3 separate regions of the Homo sapiens genome follow, and all the other regions are linked to region 2. The links are contacts of gene promoters, found by promoter capture Hi-C in blood cells and fetal thymus (Javierre and others, 2016). All regions are on one chromosome and are shown on one strand. The core of a region is centred on a gene start or on the middle of the fragment in contact, and the rest is flanking DNA. Distances in the headings are between cores, read along the strand shown. Region 1 overlaps MTG2 (mitochondrial ribosome associated GTPase 2). Region 2 holds the start of LAMA5 (laminin subunit alpha 5). Region 3 overlaps SS18L1 (SS18L1 subunit of BAF chromatin remodeling complex).

Region 1 (4,487 bases), core at 891-3,390, 170 kb after region 2:
AGGCAGGTCCCTGGGGACAGAAGGTAGACGGGTGGGTGCCCGGGGGAGGGGGAAGGCGGGTTCACGCTAACGGGCACAGGGTCTGTTTTCGGGGTGATGAAAACGTTCTGGAATTTGCAGTTTGACAGTTGCACAACCTTCTGAACATACAAAAAAACCACTGAATTATATAAAGTGGTGAATTTTATGGTATGTGAATCATATATCCCATTTGAAAAGCAGACTGACAAAAATTTGTTTCTAGGCAGGAAACAGGAAACTGGGGAAGCCAAGTGTAGCTTTACCCTACTCAGGGAGAACAGTGTTGGAGAGAAAGCTGTCAGCTTTTAGAACGCGATGGCAAAAGCTGTGTGTGTGGCAGGGAGAAGTCTTGGGGCTTTTTGCAGCAAGGAAAGTTCTGGGCAACCTTCGTGGCAGTGACTCCCCCTCTGGAGCCTCAGCTTCAGCAAAGGACGAGGGCATGTCCCCAGAGCAGCCACAGTCAGGCCCAGATCAAGGTTTCAACCCACGGGGAGGCTGGGCTGGGGGCTCCGTGCAGGGGTCGAGCCACAAGGCATCTTGAGCCTCCCCTGCAAGAGCATCAAGATGAAAGCCAGGGATAATTAACGCCGTCAGGCCTGGGGCGACTCCACAAAATCCTTTGTGGCGGCCTGAAAGAAAAAGCAAATAGATGCAAAACCCATCTCTGGTTTCTAGGATAGAAGGACCTTTGAAATTATAAGACATTAAAATAAAGCTTCGGGTAAAAGGACTGTCATGTTCTAGCTGCAGATTTGATGTGAGATCAAAACGGAATTGCTCCTGAAAGCCCAGGCACCGGCCTGCTGTGCAAAGCGCGCCCCACCCCAGCGTGCAGAGACGCGGCCCCGGACCCTTGCGGCTCATCTCACCTGAGGCTGCCGTCTCTCCTCCAAGGGCTGGGGGTCCCCTTCTGATCATCCTTCTCTGCTTCTTTGTCCCCTCCACTTTTTTTTTTTTTTTGAGATGGAGTCTTGCTCTGTCGCTCAGGCTGGAGTGCAGTGGTGTGATCTCGGCTCACTGCAAGCTCCGCCTCCCAGGTTCACGCCATTCTCCTGCTTCAGCCTCCCGAGTAGCTGGGACTACAGGTGACCGCCACCACGCCTGGCTAATTTTTTTGTATTTTTAGTAGAGACGGGGTTTCACTGTGTTAGCCAGGATGGTCTCAATCTCCTGACCTTGTGATCCACCAGCCTCGGCCTCCCAAAGTGCTGGGACTACAGGCATGAGCCACCGTGCCCAGAATGTTCTGTTTTTGTTTGTTTGTTTGTTTGTTTTTTGAGACAGGGTCTCGCTCTGTCACTCAGGCTGGAGTGCAGTGGTGCAATCACGGCTCACTGCAGCCTTGACCTCCCAGGCTCACATGATCCTCCCACGACAGCCTCTGGAGTGTCCCCTCCACTTTCTTTCTTAGGGGCCCCTCAGGGACATGTCAGAGGCCTGAGACTACTTGGGGGATGTCTATGGGCCAGGCAGGCTGCCAGCAGCTGAGCTGTCCTTGCCCTGGGGCTCCTCTGCAGTCAGGGAGACACCAGGCATGGGCCTGGCTTGGATGCATCAGTACTTGACTGCAAAGACTTAAACCACAGACAGGAAAGGCGCTGCTGCAGTCTCGACGGTCAAATGCAGGGCCCCCTCAGCTGCCATCCCACTGAGGGGCGAAGGCCCATCATCTCCCTTCGGCTCGGTAACTGCCTGGCGTAGCACAAGGGTTCTCTTTAAATCCCCAGCAAATGGAGCTGAGTGGAAATTCCGCCCCATATTACCAGGCACACGTCTCCTTCCACTCCTCACTATACCCTGCCCATGCCACGGCCGCCTTCTGAGAATAACGCTGACAGTTCCATGGCCCACAGCCCCTCTAGTTAACTTGCTGTGCACACGGCAGCCCAGCCAGAAACACGCAGCCAGGTCGGATATTGGGTGCATTCAGTCGTGAAGCCTGAGGCTTCCTGGCTCCCACTGAGCACAGAGAAGTGTTCTGAAGGACAGGAAGCAGCTGGCCTCACTGCTCTTCTCAGACGGCTGATGGAGAAAAGCTCACAGCTGCCTGCGCCGCTCTGCCTGGACTTGCATCCTCGGCCCCACCCCTTGCGCAGCAGTGAGGCCCCCCGAGACACTGGTGCCTGGGCTTGCGGTACCGCAGGGCTGCTGGACAACGGGCCAGACGCAGCCCCAGTGTGGATCCAGAGGTCTCTCTCCGTAGCAAGCCATGGAAGCACGACGGGCACTGTGCTGAGAACCCTGGTCTGCACTTCTGACCTGGGGCTCTGGCTGTGCGGTTCTGCTGAGCTCATCCGAGAGTCCACGCGTGCATGGCGGAGACCTGAGTCAGCGGCAGGGCCACCCCGTTATGGGCACCCCAACCCCTTATTAGGGGTGTTAATCAGCACAAATGAGCAACTGGCTCATCAGTCGGTGCAGGCTGACAGGTGCAGGAAATACGGAGGGCAGGCGGGGTAGGGGGCACGGAATGCTTCCCAACATGAGGGCATCTCAGGCCAGCAGGCGGGGCCCAGAGACCCAGAAGCACCACAACTCCCCCGTGTCCACAAGGCACTTTATGCATTCAAAACCACCGAATTCACACCCAGGTTTGCTCAGACAGAGGCCCAGAGGCGACCCCGCTCTGGCGTGGCTACCACCTGAGCGGCTGGCGGCCCTGGCCCAGCTCGGCCTCCGCGTAGGCGTCATACAGCACCTTCAGGTGCAACAGCAGCTGCTCCAGGTTCTCGCCGGTCAACGCCGACAGCACGATGACCTCCTGTCCCAAGTGATCCCGGAGCTGGGACAGATTGGCTTGGGCTTCAGGGAGGTCAATCTTGTTTGCGACGATTGCGTGGGGCCTCGCAGACAGGCCCTTTTCATACATCTCCAGTTCATATTTTAAATCGTCAACTTGAGTCCACGGCTCAGGCTGAGAAAGATCCACCACGAACAAGAGAAAGCGGCAGCGCTCGATGTGCCTGAGGAAGGCGGACCCCAGACCCCTGTTCTGGTGGGCGCCTCGTATGATGCCGGGGATGTCGGCCACTGCAGGGAAGACAGGGGCACACGAGGTGACCACTTGGCACACCCAGCACCCAAGAGCGCCTTCCACCTCGAGCCTGGGAGAGAAGGCCTGGAGCCCACTGCGAAGGCGGATTTCCTGAGTTCTAACACTTTCCTTTCAAGGAACGCCTTGAACTGAAGCCATTTGATTTAGCACCTGGGTGATTCACTGGGCCAACTGACACCTGAGGAATTCAATGCTTGGAGATGTTTGGGAGACCAGCGTGGCGATGGATCTATCTAGTAGAGTACATTTCATACCTTCTCTTTCTGCTTCTAATAGGATTCAAAAAAGAGGAAAATGGCTGCCTGTACTCTACTAATCATTTGATTACTGATAGAAATTTACATGTAGAGTACTCTGCAGATATAAAGTGCCATCCAAATAACCTTACCAGCAGGCTTACTATTTTTAATGGGTGTATTGTCTTCTGGGAAAAAGTTTTATTCTCTCAAACGGCACAAGGAAAGCTTTTAAGTCACGTGTTGTGATGCTGCTGAGCTTCCACAGATGAGAGGGGACAAATAGAGTGGGAAGAAATACTGTCCTCGGCTGGAATTTCAATGCAGGTTTCTGAACTGTAACTGACAGATTCCTAGGGGATGGGGTGGGAACCTGATTTTCATAGAGAACAGGCTGATGAAAATTGTTTAAATTAGGGCCAGGTGCAGTAGCTCACGCCTGTAATCCCAACACTTTGGGAGACCAAGGTGGGGCGGGGGGCAGATCACTTGAGATCAGGAGTTCGAGACCAGCCTGGCCAACATGGTGAAACCCCGTCTCTACTAAAAATACAAAAAAATTAACTGGGCGTGGTGGCGCACGCCTGTAATCCCAGCTACTTGGGAGGCTGAGGCAGGAGAATCACTTAAATATGGGAGGTGGAGGTTGCAGTGAGCTGAGATCGCACCACTGCACTCCAGCCAGGGTGACAGAGTGAGACTCCGTCTCAAAAAAAAAAAAAAAAAAAAGTTGTTTACATTAGGAAAAACAATGCTACTTTTTTTTTTTTTTTTTTGAGATGGAGTTTCGCTCTGTCGCCCAGGCTGGAGTGCAGTGGCATGATCTCGGCTCACTGCAAGCTTTGCCTTCTGGGTTCATGCCATTCTCCATCCTCAGCCTCCCAAGTAGCTGGGACTACAGGTGCCCGCCACCACACCCAGCTAATTTTTTTGTATTTTTAGTAGAGACGGGGTTTCACCATGTTAGCCAGGATGGTGTCGATCTCCTGACCTCGTGATCCGCCTGCCTCGGCCTCCCAAAGTGCTGGGGTTACAGGTGTGAGCCACCACGCCTGGCCAACAATGCTACATTTTAAACAGAAAGCTAAATTTAAGAGTTACATCATTACTTTTCTGAATTACATCATTTAAATCTAACCTTTGGGAGAATTCTGGAAGTTCTACCTGCTATTTGT
Region 2 (4,122 bases), core at 182-2,681:
TCCTTGATGTCTCCGCCCCCTCTCCAGCCAGCCCCTCCCCCACTTGGAGCTTCTCCTGCCAAGGGGAGCCGCCTCCTCTCCCCCCTCCCCCAGGTGGGAGAACTAATAGTGAAGTTATGGAAGAATTGCCGGGCCGGAAAGTAGGAGGAGGGAGAGAGGGTCCCATCGCCCTCCCGACTCCGTAGAGAAAGGGCCATACACCCTCTTGGGATTTGAGATTTGCAGGAGGCCAGGGCGCCAGGAAGGTGTGCAAGGAGGTGCACCCTCCAGGGACAGCTGCTAGCTCAGAACCCCCACCAGAACCGGCTGGCCAGTGCCCCACAAACCCACCCAGCCCCCCGGGACTGTCCAGGGAACCCAGCGAGAGATGAGCCCCACAGCCCATCTGGGACCATGGCCCGCCCAGCTGGCCTGGCTCAGGGATGGGGGTTTGCTGCCAGCTCGGCAGCTGCAGCCCCACCCCGCCGCCACCCCCTCGGGGCTTCCCTGGAGGCAGATTTGGCCCCGGAGCCCAAGGGAAGTAGGAGACCCAGGGCCGCAGCCACCCAAAGGCAGACGAAGACCTGATCTCGGCCTCTAGGTCCTGTGCTGTTTGCCAGGCGTCCTCGAGCCGCCGATCGTGGCAGGAACGCGTGCGCGGCTGTGCAGCGGGTTGGAGGCCAGGCCGAGAGAGCTGGTGGAGTCCACCGGGCCCCGGAGCACAGGTGCTTCCAGGCACCCAGCAGGTGCTCAGCAGCTGTGACCAGAGCCCCCGACCTCCTTAAGAGCCAATTTGGCGGCTGTGGGGCCATGAGCACCGCCCCCGTCCTCTAAAGGGGGCTGCAGCTGCAGGCCAGTCCCTCCTGCCCCTATTTCCCTATCTGAGAGTATTTTTAAGCCCTGCTGGGGCAGGCGGGAGCCAGGCCGAGTTGAACCTGACCTGGCTGCCCCAGGAAGCAGGGGGTTCCCACCTAGGCTGCCCCGTTCCTCTGCAGATGGTCATTCGCGGGTGCAGAGGGCACCTTCCCGCAGCCAGCAGGACGGACGCTGTTGGGGGAGGAGCGGGGGCAGCCGAGTGGTGCACCCAAGTTAGGGGAACAAAGAGTGGGCCCCTGGGCTGGGAGGAGCTGGTGGGCGCTCTGGGGGCCAGGGCGTCGTGGGGAGCGCTAGGGTCCCACCCGGGACCCGGAGCTACGACCTGGGCTGGGGGCCCGGCGGCGCCGTCGTCCCACGGCCTGGCCCGAGGCCAGCAGGTGCCCCTTCCGGGAGGCGGCCGGGCCGGGGTCCGAAGGGTTAAGGCCGCCCGGCCGCCCCTCCCCCTCCTCTCTCCTTCCCCCCCCCACCCCGCCTCCCCGGACCTCTCCCCGGGGCTCGGGGCTCGGGCGCTCGGGCGGGCCGGGGCGGGGCCTGACGTCCGCGGGCGGAGCGAGCCCTGCCGGCCGCCTGGCTTCAGACCCGCCGGGCTCCCGCCGCGCGCGCTGTCCCTGGAGCTCGGGGACGCGGCCCGGAGCCGGGAAGATGGCGAAGCGGCTCTGCGCGGGGAGCGCACTGTGTGTTCGCGGCCCCCGGGGCCCCGCGCCGCTGCTGCTGGTCGGGCTGGCGCTGCTGGGCGCGGCGCGGGCGCGGGAGGAGGCGGGCGGCGGCTTCAGCCTGCACCCGCCCTACTTCAACCTGGCCGAGGGCGCCCGCATCGCCGCCTCCGCGACCTGCGGAGAGGAGGCCCCGGCGCGCGGCTCCCCGCGCCCCACCGAGGACCTTTACTGCAAGCTGGTAGGGGGCCCCGTGGCCGGCGGCGACCCCAACCAGACCATCCGGGTGAGCGCAGGGGCGGGCCGTGGGGCTTCCTCCCGGGGCACTCGGACCCGGAACACCGGCCCGACCCCAGGGGGAGCGCCGTGGCCCGGGGCGAGTCCAGGTGCGGACTCTCTGGTTCCGCATTTTGGGGGCCCAAGAAGGCACCCCGACCCGGCCGCTCCGTCTCGGCCGGGAAACTTCGCGTCCCTCCGGGAAGGCGGAATTAAAGTCCCCGGCATGGACCCGGGGGCGGCTGGGCGCCGGTCCAGTTCGACTGCGGTGACCGGGGCGGGAGGGGGGCCGGGCCCAGTCCCTGGCGGCCCCAAGTCCGGGATCCCGGGGAGGGCGGGACTTGGCCTCCGCCGCCTGCTGCCGGTGGGGAGGGGGCGCAGCTCCGCCCTACCCGGGACAGGCTGGAACCTGTTGGCCTCTGGATGGGGTGGGAGGGGCCAGCCACCTGAGGCTCCCACTAGCCCCTCTCGGAGGAGTCTAGGGACTCGAGGAGACCTCCAAAGTAGGGGAGGGCCAGCTGCGAAGTTTTGACTGGGGCTGGGAACACGTGGCTCCCAGGAGGGGCAGCATCTCTGCCCAGCAGGTGGTAGGGTCCGGGGGCTTCAGTCTCCCTGGGAGATGTGGGTTCAGGCCCTGAAGACCCCCTGGGGTGCATGTCCCCTCCCCAACAAGCCTTAAACCTGTAGGCGGGTTCTGTTGGTGGACTCCATGCATGGACACCTCACCTGAAAACCAAGGCTCTTGGGGCCCTGTAGACTTAGGTTGGGCCTGGGGTCAGCCTTGGGTGAGGAGCAGCAAAGTCAGCTCCAACGGCTCCCAACCGGCCGCTCTAGGCCCATTCCCCACCTCAGCCCCACCTTAGGGAGAGTCTAGGGGCCCTGAGGGCCTGTGTAACCTGAGCTGTCTCCTCCCTGGTACCTCTGCCTTCCCGGAAGGAGAGGCTGGGGCAGGGGCGAGTAGCTGGAGATTTGCTGGGTGGGGGCAGAGGGCCCTGGAGCAAGACGTTATGGGGATGAATGGAGGAGCCTGGGCTGGGCCCGCCCCCTCTGCCTGCCCCACCCCCTTGGCCCTGGTGGAGGGGGAAGGAGCCTCCCCAGGCTTCTGGGCTCACCGTTCTCTCCTTAAGCCCAGCACAGTCCTCTGAGATAGGAGGTCTCAAGCCCACACTTCAGATGGGGGATCTGAGCCCTGGAAAGCTGCTGACACCTGCTTGGAGCCCCCCAGCCAGAACAGGGTCCAGCGGGGGTTAGCTGTGGGAACCTGGGTGCCTCCTGGCTGCCCCCTTATCTGGTCAACTCAGAGGGGCCGGGTCTCAGGACGGAGGGCCTGTGACTGTCTCCTTACCTGCTGCCACACCTCACCACAGAGGGCCTGGCTGAGTGTCCCCAGCTGAGATTTTGCCGTTCTGGCAGGGGAGGCTCCAGGTGCCCTGTGAACCTCAGACCACCCCCCCACAGCCTGCCCATGCTGCGTGGCTGGGGGCCACAGGCCCCCTCTCAGATCTGTCTCCTCTGTGGGGGCTTATTACCCCCGTCTCGTGAGTAAAGGGCCAGCCTGTAGTCAACGCCCCTCTCCTCTGCCTCAGCTGTGTGGCTTCCCTCTGTCAGCCTCAAGCTGTCTTTAAAATGGGCACAGCGTGCTGGCCCCCCTCACCTGAGACTGTGAGCTTGGCCCGAGGAGCCTGGGAAGTGGCCACAGTTTCAGTGGCAGCTGTGGGCTGTGGTGCTCCATGCCTCAGAGCCAGCTTGGATGAGAAACCAGCCGGCCTCGCCCAGCTCATGTCTAGCAATAGAGGTGAACCCTTCGCTTCCAAAGTCTCGAGCTCTGAGCAGTGAGTGCCCGCTGAGGCTGCCAGATATGTAGAAAGATCAGCTGGTAGACGTGAGCTGGACGGGTATGACCTTGGATGCCTCCTTCATCTGAGAGCCGCGGGTCTGCTGACCGCCCTGGCCGCGGATTGGGCGTGTGAGAAGTCCTTGCCGGCCGGTCTGGAGTGGAGCTGCGGTTGGGGCAAGGCAGGCAGGCACAGGAGGTGCCCAGGCGATGAAGCCGCAGCTCCATCTGAGGGGGCTCACTAAGGCTATGGGGCCTGGGGCTGGGCAGTGTGTTCTCAAGGCTGCAGGCCAGGGGCTCTCAGGGACCCTCTGTAGGAGATGCACATTAGCTGGGCATCCCAGATGGGGGTCGGGGTGAACCCTGCTGGGCAGCTGGAGCAGGCAGAGGGCAGGGGGAGGTTGTGGCCCTCACAGCCCCAGGTGGGCATCAGGGGATCCCTGGCCGGCCCAGCCTGGGAAGGTGGGGACTGGGCAGCCAGGCCAGCATGGTGACTCATTGGAA
Region 3 (4,305 bases), core at 1,671-4,170, 190 kb after region 2:
TCTCCTAGGAGAGGGGAGAATGTCCTAGAACAGGACTGGTATTCAACACAGGCAAGTCCTTTAATCTGTGCCTCAGTTCTTCATCTCTAAAATGGGAACTGTTACCTGCCTCCAGATTTCCTCATAGGGGCTGTCAGAATTAATTCAAGCAAAACACATAAGTGACTTATAAATTCTAAAGCACCCGACTCTGGATAAAGAATTAATTTTAACTTATTTATTTATTTATTTATTTATTTTTTTGAGACGGAATTTCACTCTTGTTGCCTAGGCTCGGGTGCAATGGTGCGATCTTGCCCCACCACAACCTCTGTCTCCTGGGTTCAAGCCATTCTCCTGCCTCAGGTTCCCGAGTAGCTGGGATTACAGGTATGCACCACCATACCTGGCTAATTTTGTATTTTTAGTAGGGACGGGGTTTCTCCATGTTGGTCAGGCTGGTCTCGAACTCCCGACCTCAGGTGATCCGCCCGCTTCGGCCTCCCAAAGTGCTGGGATTACAGGCGTGAACCACCACGCCAAGAATTACTTTTAACTTTTAAAACAAAACATCAATTAAAGAGAAATATCGTTATTACTAGGCCTCATATATCAAGCATTGGATATCTCTTGTATTTTCTTGGTAGTTCTTGGAAATCTGTCAGCATTTATCCAAAGATTTTTTTAAAAGGATTCATAGCAAATATGAATATTATTATTCCAACTAAAGGTTGATCAAATGTCCATGCTACTTGTTAATTGAAATGTGGGATTTTTTTCCTTTGACCATACTTTTGCAAGTGTGCTGTCTTTAATGTTCACACAGAATTTAAATGGGATTTAATGTCTTAGAAATGTAAAAATTACTCAAGTTTCTCTATATAAAACCTTTACTTTTCATTAGAAAGAACACAGTAATGTAACTGGATGTGACTTTCAGACATCCCTAAAAGAAAAGAAATGCTTGCTTGGAGATCTGAGCAAGTAGGTCCTGGAAGAAATAATATAAAATAAACAACTTGCCAACTGTTGGGAAGATTTGGTTTGAATATTTAAAATTACCTATCAACTTAGAATTGGGCTTATTAAATATTCCAATCCCAGAAATGACCATCAGCTAAACAAGGGTCAAAGCCAGAGTAATCTCTGAGGGCCCACTTCCCAGAGAGCTGCCCCTTTCCTTCAGCAATACCGCTGGCCCTGGGTTAGGCAATTTGTCCACGGCCCTTAGGGATTCATATTTATTTGGAATACAGTCACTGATCCCTGTTTACTTTTTAATACAAAAACATGTACCTTTTTGGATAAACGGAATTGGCGAGAGACAGGCAATGGGCAAGCTCTGGAAGTGGCCATCTGTGGCCTCTCCCGTGGGAGATGTTTATCCTTTTCGTTACGTAACAGAAACTGACCCAACGCACAGAAGATGCCCTCCCACCCACCCCATCGAGGCACAGGAAGAGGCTGCCCTCCAGGGGCTGCATGTGTGTCCAGCTGTGGCGTAGCCAGTTAAAGAAAAGTTGACAACCCACACTACAACACTGCATGAGGAGGAAAATGAGACCTAACGTCTGTTGACGGGAACAGGTGGACTGTGGTGTCCTCGAGATCTGTCCTGTCCCTGGGCACAGAATGCTCTGATGACAAAATGACCCCCAAAGCTAGCTAGAAACATTGAGAAGGGGGCGGGGGACAAAAAAAGGATACCTCTCCGTGTACCGACATACAATACTATACACAGCACCAAAAGTATCACACCACCAAGCGCTGTCTCACGCCAGTGGTGTGCGCTCGGCGTCATACCCAGCATGAAATGAGCACGCTTCACATGCAGACGTGGCACTGGGCGAACAGGTAACCAACATGTCACAATTCACCAGAGCTGCCGCCAGCCCATCCGGCCCCTGGATGAACACGCTACCACAAGGGCTCCAGCCAGAATGTGTGTCCCTTACTGCTGGTAATTTCCATACTGGCCCTAAAAGAGATCAAGACACAGATTACACCCCTATAGTAATGAGTGAAAGGAAGACAGACGTCCACCCCAGCCCGGACAGGGGGTAGGAGGGACAACAGCAAGCAAACAACCTCTGCTCACATCTCTGCGGGGCAGCGAACGACTTTCCAGAAGCCACTGGCCAAGCCTGGGGCTAACAACGTAGACAGGGCCAAAGGTTCATTTGTTCAGTCACACACTGGCATCGCTGCGGCCGGGCCTGTGCCAGGCCTGGCATCAGAGCCTTATGCTGGGCCTGCTATGCAGGAAGGCTCTCCTCCAAGCTGGCCCCACTGGGAGCCAATGCAAACACCATCTGCCCCCGAGCCTGCTACAGTAAGAAAATGGGAGCGGGGACGACCAGGGTGATGGGTTTCAATCTATAAAAAAAAATCTAAAGACCCAGGCTGGGCAACATGGCCAGACTCCATCTCTACAAAAATCCAAATATTAGCTGGGTGTGGTGGCGTGTGCCAATAGTCCCAGATACTTGGAGGGTGAGGTGGGAGGATCGCTTGAGCCCAGGAGGTCAAGGCTGCAGTGAGCCGTGATTGCACCACTGCACTCTAGTCTGGGTGAGACCCTGTTTCAAAAACAAATCTGAATTTGGGAGGCCGAGGCAGGAGGACTGCTTGAGCCCAGGAGTTTGAGACCAGCCTGGGCAGTACAGCAAGACCCCATCTCTACAAAAAAAGAGAAAAAATTAGCCTCGGCCAGGCACAGTGGCTCACGCCTGCAATCCCAGCACTTTGGGAGGCCGAGGTGGGTGGATCATTTGAGGTCAGGAGTTCAAGACCAGCCTGGCCAACATGGTGAAACCCCATCTCTACTAAAAATACAAAAAAAAAAATTAGCCAGGTGGTAGTGGCACGTGCCTGTAATCCCAGCTACTTGGGAGGCTGAGGCAGGAGAATCACTGGGCCTGAGAGGTGGAGGTTGCAGTGAACCGAGATCATGCCACTGTATTCCAGTGTGGGTGACAGAGTGAGACCTTGTCTCAAAAAAAAAAAAAAAAAAAAAAAGAATAAGCCACATGTTGTGGCGCATGCCCCGGAGGTTGAGGCTGCGGTGAGCCATGTTCCTGCCAATGCACTCCAGCCTGGGCGACAGAGTGAGACCCTGTCTTAAAAAAAAAAAAAAAAAAAAAGGCCAGGCACAGTGGCTCATGCCTGTAGGATTACAGTCCCAGCACTTTGGAAGGATCACCTGAGGTCAGGAGCTCGAGACCACCCTGGCCAACATGGCGAAACCCTGTCTCTACTAAAAATACAAAAATTAGCCAGGTGTGATAGTACGTGCTTGTAATCCCAGCTACTCCGGATGCTGAGGCAGGAGAATTGCTAGAACCCGAGAGGCAGAGGCTGCAGTGAGCGAGATCGTGCCACTGCACTCCAGCCTGGGCAACAGAGCAAGACTCCATCTCAAAAACAACAACAAAAAACAACATGAAGAAGAGAAACTAGAGAGCCTGTGCCCCACAAGGCCACAAGGCAGAATTCCTTGGGCAGCAAAACGGAGCATCGGACCTGTGGTGAAAGCCACTCGGGAGACTGCCACAGGGGAAGACAACGGATCATCATCTGCATGCCTGTTCTCCATGTGTCCCCAGCTAGTTAATGATCAGATTTCCCGAATGCCCCCAGCGAGGAAGTGGGGGAGGGAGGAAAGCTGTTCCAGCCTGACCGAACACGTCACATTCTCATTCCCAGAGCTGCCTGTGATGATTCTAGTTAGTGGGAGTCTGTTCTGATGTCTTTCTGCTCCTGCACCATTGGGTAAGACGGAAAGCCTCAAATCCAGAGCTGCTCAGCTGAAGGCATGGCAGCCCTGGAGCCCTATAAAACCACTGGCAGCCCCAATGCCTCAGCACCTTTTTTTTTTTTTTGAGACAGAGTTTCGCTCTTGTTGCCCATGCTGGAATACAATGGCGCGATCTCAGCTCACTGCAACCTCCGTCTCTATCTGCTCCCGCCCGCCTCTGCTTTCCAAAGTGCTATAGGCGTGAGCCACAGCGCCTGGCCGCCTCAGCACATGTTTAAGTGTAGCCCAGTGGTTCTCAAACGGAGACAGTTTTGCCCCTGGGGCATCTGACAATGTCTGGAGTCATTTTAAATTGTCAGACTGGGCAATGGGGGTGCTACTGGCATCGTGGTGGAGGCCAGGGGTGCTGCAAACATAACACAGTGTGCACAATGGCCCCTAGGAGACGCCCAGCGCCGGCAGTGCTGTGCCAAAGCGCCACGGCCAGCTACACTGGATGCTGACTAAAGGCTATCTTAATATTTTGCAGTTAGATGGACACATTTCCCCCCAGATGTGAAATTCTATTC

What was found. Contacts are between HindIII fragments. The CHiCAGO score rates a contact against its expected background, and 5 or more counts as called.
Region 1: a fragment that was not itself captured here is called in contact with the fragment with the promoter of LAMA5 in region 2 in 4 of 17 cell types (endothelial precursors, megakaryocytes, M2 macrophages and 1 more); the score reaches 7.5 in endothelial precursors.
Region 3: a fragment that was not itself captured here is called in contact with the fragment with the promoter of LAMA5 in region 2 in 1 of 17 cell types (erythroblasts); the score reaches 5.5 in erythroblasts.

Annotation. Positions count from the first base shown.
Region 1 is chr20:62,199,247-62,203,733 of GRCh38, reverse strand. It overlaps MTG2 (mitochondrial ribosome associated GTPase 2), which reads right to left. Exons shown (of 7, transcript NM_015666.4): 6 at 4,477-4,487; 7 at 166-3,051. The coding sequence ends at 2,657. Among named protein-coding and RNA genes, the nearest start is that of MTG2, 18 kb to the right of the region's middle. The HindIII fragment of the contact is 2,804 bases long and covers 739-3,542 here.
Region 2 is chr20:62,364,621-62,368,742 of GRCh38, reverse strand. LAMA5 (laminin subunit alpha 5) reads left to right here and starts at 1,431. Exons shown (of 80, transcript NM_005560.6): 1 at 1,431-1,794. The coding sequence starts at 1,498. RefSeq lists silencers at 1,308-1,747, 4,076-4,122 and enhancers at 1,927-2,626, 3,325-4,024, 4,025-4,122. The HindIII fragment of the contact is 18,996 bases long and covers 1-4,122 here.
Region 3 is chr20:62,176,834-62,181,138 of GRCh38, reverse strand. SS18L1 (SS18L1 subunit of BAF chromatin remodeling complex) reads right to left here. Exons shown (of 11, transcript NM_198935.3): 11 at 1-1,957. The coding sequence ends at 1,931. Among named protein-coding and RNA genes, the nearest start is that of MTG2, 4.0 kb to the left of the region's middle. The HindIII fragment of the contact is 7,143 bases long and covers 1-4,305 here.